Regions from separate parts of the Homo sapiens genome. Here region 1 is linked to region 2. Evidence: promoter capture Hi-C in 16 types of primary human blood cells and fetal thymus (Javierre and others, 2016). All regions are on one chromosome and are shown on one strand. Each heading gives the region's core, a stretch centred on a gene start or on the middle of the fragment in contact. The rest is flanking DNA. Distances are from core to core; before and after follow the strand shown.

Region 1 (2,704 bases), core at 101-2,600, 1.1 Mb before region 2:
ACAAAGGTAACATTAGACAGAAAAAAATGTACAAAACTAAAATTAAGTGATTAATGCTTGGGAATGTTTCCTCCAATGTTCATCTAGTCATGGTTTTCACGAATCACTCTTGCCAATAAAACCGAAAATCAAAGTAATCTAGTGAGTGTAAGAAAAGTTACTGTAAATATGTTTGCATTCGTCAGACTCTATGGAGTCTTTTTGAAGTTAAACATTAAATCTCCACTGTAATTCATACTGTTAATTATAGTAGCAAAAGACTTAAAAAACAATGGTAGCATATTTATGATATATCCAAAATTAAGAGTATTATGCAATTTTTATTAGGTTGATCTATGTTTATTGACTAGGAAAAACAATGTTGGTAGAGAGGAGTGAACAGATCTAGAACATATTTTGTAGGTAAAGGGAATAAGATTTGTTTAGGAATTAACTATGAGGAGAAATAAATGTTCAGAAACAAGTAGAGCACTTATAAACACCTTTTTGTGCCAAATTAAGAACAAAAAAGTCAGCATTAAGTTAATGCCACCATATACATCCTTCCACATTTATGTTTACAAACTTGTGCTTTTATTTCTAGGAAACATTTCTAGGCTGGGCGCAGTGGCTCACACCTGTAATGCTAGCGCTTTGGGAAGCCAAGATGGGAGGATTATTTGAGGCCGGGAGTTTGCGACCAGCCTGAGCAACATAGCAGGATCCTGTCTCTGCAAAAAAATTTAAAACTAGCCAGGTGCGGTGGCTCGTGCCTGTTGCCCTAGCTACTCAGGGAGACTGAGGCAGAGGATTGCTTCAACCCAGGAGTTTGAGGTTGCAGTGAGCTAAGATCATGTCACTGCACTCCAGACTGAGCAACAGAGTGACACTTTATAAAAAAAAAAAAAAAAAAAACTAGGTTTTTGAACTTGCTTAATCAAAGAATTTGTTTAAACTTTTAAGATGCGTTGTCAGATTATCTTTCCCTAAAGGAATAATTTCTATTCCTATCAGCTGTTTATATTCCTGCCTAGTCACCATCACTAGATATAATTGATTTTCAGTTTTTGCCAATCTGAGGAACAAAAAATGACCCTTATATGTCAAATTTACAGTTTATTTTCAAGGATTTTGGGATTCTGATCAAATTTTGGTACCTTCATATAAAATTTGGCTTTTATATCACATCTTGTCTTCTCTGCTTTCCACCCTCTTTTATGTTGTTTTTTGGCTTCTGGCCGCATGACTATAATCTCCGCTTTTGTATTCACATCACCTTCTGTCATTTTTGACCTTGCCTCCGTCTTACAAGGATCCTTGTAATTAATTATATTGGGCCTGCTGAGATAATCCAGGATATTCTTCCTACTCAAGTTCCTCAATTTAATCACATCTGCAAAAACTGCCTTTTGCTATAGAACAATGACAGGAGATTAGAATGTAAACATATTTGGGGGACCGTTATTCAGCTTAACACAATACGTCCCCCTTCATCAGGTGGAGCTTATTTTCCCTCCTTCCTTGAGTGTGGGCTGGACTTAGTGACTAACTTCCAAAGAACAGAGTATGGAAAGGGAGGAGGAGAGTAACTTCATAGTACAGAAACCTGGAAACACTGTCTTGGCCAGGTGGTCAAAGTTAATATCATCAAGTCATGTTGATAGCATATACTCCCAATATACTGTGATGAGAAGGGCAATTCACCTCTGTGGTATTCTCAAAACCTATAACCCAATCTAGTCTAAACATGAAAAAAAAAAAATCAAACTAAAATTGAAGGACATTCTATAAAACACCTGATCAGTATTCCTCAAAACTATCAACGTCGTGGGGAACAAGGAAAGATTGAAATACTGTAACAGACCAGAGGAAACTAAGGAAACTTAATTGATGACTGAATGCAGTGTGCTGTGTTGAACTGGATCCTAGAGAAAATAGACATTAGTGGAAAAACTACTGAAATATGAATAGTCTCAAGTTTAATAGTAGTGTACCATTATTACTTTCTTAGTTTTGACAAATGTACCATGGTTATGCAAGATGCTAACAATACAGAAAAATAAGGGGTATTTGGGACCTCCCTGTATTATCCTTATGCCCTTACTTGAAAGTTGTTTCAGCAATAGAAGTTTATTTAAAATATTGTGAAGGGCCTGAGTATTTTTAAATCAACTGCAGTGACTCTCTTTTGTGTATTTGTGTACAGATGAGTTTTTCTGCATCGAATTTTATCTCCTTTCCTTGCAGAAGAAAGAGAATTAGCCCTTTACAGAGATAACAGTTGCCTAAGCCAGCTCTTTTCTCCTCTTTTTGATGTTCTTCTTTTTCTCTCAGTTTGAAAATTGTAGGTTATTTGAGTTTTTAAAATGTCTATTGCTACATACACATTCTAGTTATATTCTAGTCCAAACAATCTAGTAAAATATCTAAAAGAAAAATGCTGTTCACTGTATTTTTTATTTTTAAAATGTGAGTGAGTGCATTTAAATAATAGGTTGTGTTATTATAATTATGAGCTAAAAGTTTTGAAGTGTGATTTAAAGAGTCTTTAACATTACAATTCTGGACTACAAAGTGTAAAAATTGTATTTTAAAAGATTCATGTACTGTTTCCGATAAATAGATGAATCTTTGATCACTGGAATGTGTTAATACTAATTTAAAGGCAGCTATATATCTTCTGATTTTATAAGAAATTAACTAAGTACAATATTATATTTTATAT
Region 2 (2,808 bases), core at 267-2,766:
ACATTATGGTGGGGAAAAAAAGATATTTATCTATTCGACAATATTTAATGGTCATTTATTCTGTGCCAAGTCTCTAAGGACATGCGATTACAGCAGAAAACAAAACAAAGCCCCTGACCTCATGGAACACTAAACAGAGGGCAGTGACATCAATGTAAATGTTGAGTGCTAGGAAGAAAAATAAAGAAGGATAAGATGATTCGGCAGGGTTGGGCAGAGCTCGCTATTTTAATTGTGGTGGTCAATAGGATGCCATTCAAGCTGAAAACGGAAGTAAGGGTAAAAACTAGGCAGACATCTGGGGAAAGACAATCAAGGTCCCGGGGAAGTAGCATGCCTGGCACATTGAATGAAGAGCAAGGAGGGTGGGGAGGCTGGGGCGGAGTGAGCAAAGGAGAGAATAGAATAAGACATCAGCGTAGGACCTAGGGAATATCTTTATCATGATTGCAAGCCTTCTGCGCTGTCTGTAATAATAATATTATTATTTTTTGAGACGGAGTTTTGCTGTTGTTGCCCAGGCTGGAGTGCGATGGTGCGGTCTCGGCTCACTGCAACCTCTGCCTTCCGGGTTCAAGCAATTCTCCTGCCTCGGCCTCCCAAGTAGCTGGGATTACAGGCGCCCGCCACCACGCCCGGCTAATTTTTGTATTTTTAGTAGAGACAGGGTTTCACCATGTTGGCCAAGCTGGTCTCGAATCCTGACCTCAGGTGATCCGCCCACCTCGGCCTCCCAAAGTCCTGGGATTACAGGCGTAAGCCACGGCGCCCGGCCTGAAATAATATTAACAACAGCAAAAGATCATTTTGCAGGCCAGGCACGGTGCTCACGCCTGTAATCCCAGGACCTTGGGAGGCTGAGGCGGGAGGTTGGCTAGATCCCAGGAGTTCGAGACCAGCCTGGACAACAGGGCGAAACCCATCTCTACCAAAAATTAGGCGGGCGTGGTGGCGCACGACTGTATTCCTAGCTACTCAGGAGGCTGAGGTGGGAGGATTGCTTGAGCCCCATTGGTCGACGCTGCAGTGAGCCGTGATCGCACCACTGCACTCCAGCCTGGGTAACAGAGGGAGACCCTGTCCCCGCCCCACTAAAAAAAAAAATCATTTTTAAATTGCAACCTCCCATCTCCATCTGCAACAACTCCCCGTTCTCAGCTCAACTGATAGGTAACCTCTAGAGATGGCTGTAGTACAAGAATGAAAAAAGGTACTCATTCATAAATCTGATCCATAGTGGTGGCATTTCCGGGAAAAACGTTCCATACCCCTACCATCCGGGCGACCCCAATTGCACCTGGCGGACCAGGCAAGGGCGGAAAGGAGCAGCGCCTGCGCGTGGTGAGCGCGGCCCCGCCCAGCCCGCTAGTGGGCGGGCAGAAACTGGCCACAGAGCAGTCTCCGGAAGCTGCCTCTGGCTGCTCTGTTAACGTGTCCCGCGAGCGAGGCGCGTCGCAAAAGGTCGCGGCGGAACTTCCCTGCGCTTTTCAGACCATACTCTTTACGGTACTAGGCACTGCTGAGCTGGGAGATGTCGGCGGCGTGTTGGGAGGAACCGTGGGGTCTTCCCGGCGGCTTTGCGAAGCGGGTCCTGGTGACCGGCGGTGCTGGTTTCATGTAGGTAATGGCGCCGCTAGCCAAGCAGTGGCTCCCCAGAAACCCCTACCTTTTCCCGCAGCTCTGCTTGCCCTAGGTAATTTGGGTCCAGCTTTGAGGGGTCCTTATTCTGATATGGGGAGGGTCCTAATGCACGACCTGGACCAGCTTTTCTCTCTCTGGCCTGCAAAGAAGTGGTTCCTTTGAAACTGACTTCTTTAAAACGCCTCTTCCAAAGCTGCGTTACTCTCCGCCCTTCTGTGGCCGGAGGTGCTCACCATGTCACTCCTTGAGTGCGTGCAAGTTACCCTAAGCTGCTCACCGACTGCTTCCCACCTCCAGCCTAGAGCACCCACACCCCACGATGGGCCCTGTACATATAGGCACCCCCAAAACGATTTAAGGACTATAATAGGACATCTATGTAATCAGCAAACTTTTACAAATCCACTGTTGACACCCTTTTCTTCCTCAGACCCACATTCGAGCAGCAAGTCCTCTCTACTTCCAAAGTATATCCTTACGGCGACCACTTCTCACCAGTTTCCCGTTTCCACCCTAGCCCATGTTTACTGTCATCTTTTGCCTCGACTGCTGCTGTAGCCTCTTGGTTGGCCATAACTGCGTCCACTCATGTTCCTTTAAAGCCTGTTGCTCACATACAAGTCAGTGTTTCTTAAGTCAATCAGATCATGGTAGAAGCAGGATTTTACTTCAGTGGTTCCTGCCACACTTAAGAATAAAGCCCAAACTCTACCATATCTAGAAAACTCAAGTGCCCAAGCCCTACTTTTGCAACCTGATCTGCTTTTCTGTACCTGCCATGCTTCCCCTCTTAGTTCTTGGAACACACCAAGATACACACTTCTGTCTTGAGGCCTTTGCACTTGCTTCCCCTTTCCTTAGGCTGTTTGCACCACTCAATTCTGGTTTTTATTCAGATAGCACCTCAGAGAGTTCTTACCTGACCACCATATCTAAAATAGCCCCTCTCCCAACTAGCACACTTAACCTCTACCTGAAATTATATTGCGGATTTGTGTCTGCTTGTTTATTGCTTGTATCCCCACTCTAAAATGCAAACTCGGTAAGGACAGAGACTACTGTTCATTCAGCACCTGGAAGAATGCCTGGCCCATTCTATATAAGTCTTTAGTAATTGTGGAATGGATGAATGCAAGAGTAATAAACAGGAAACTCTCCTATCCTCCC

What was found. The method cuts DNA at HindIII sites, captures the fragments that hold promoters and counts their contacts. A CHiCAGO score of 5 or more calls a contact.
Region 1: a fragment that was not itself captured here is called in contact with the fragment with the promoter of TGDS in region 2 in 1 of 17 cell types (total CD4 T cells); the score reaches 6.0 in total CD4 T cells.

Annotation. Positions count from the first base shown.
Region 1 is chr13:95,672,548-95,675,251 of GRCh38, reverse strand. It overlaps DNAJC3-DT (DNAJC3 divergent transcript), which reads left to right. Exons shown (of 2, transcript NR_132117.1): 2 at 584-2,417. Among named protein-coding and RNA genes, the nearest start is that of DNAJC3-DT, 3.0 kb to the left of the region's middle. The HindIII fragment of the contact is 2,769 bases long and covers 1-2,704 here.
Region 2 is chr13:94,594,860-94,597,667 of GRCh38, reverse strand. It overlaps TGDS (TDP-glucose 4,6-dehydratase), which reads left to right and starts at 1,516. Exons shown (of 12, transcript NM_014305.4): 1 at 1,516-1,617. The coding sequence starts at 1,532. RefSeq lists an enhancer at 1,343-1,652. The HindIII fragment of the contact is 5,991 bases long and covers 1-2,808 here.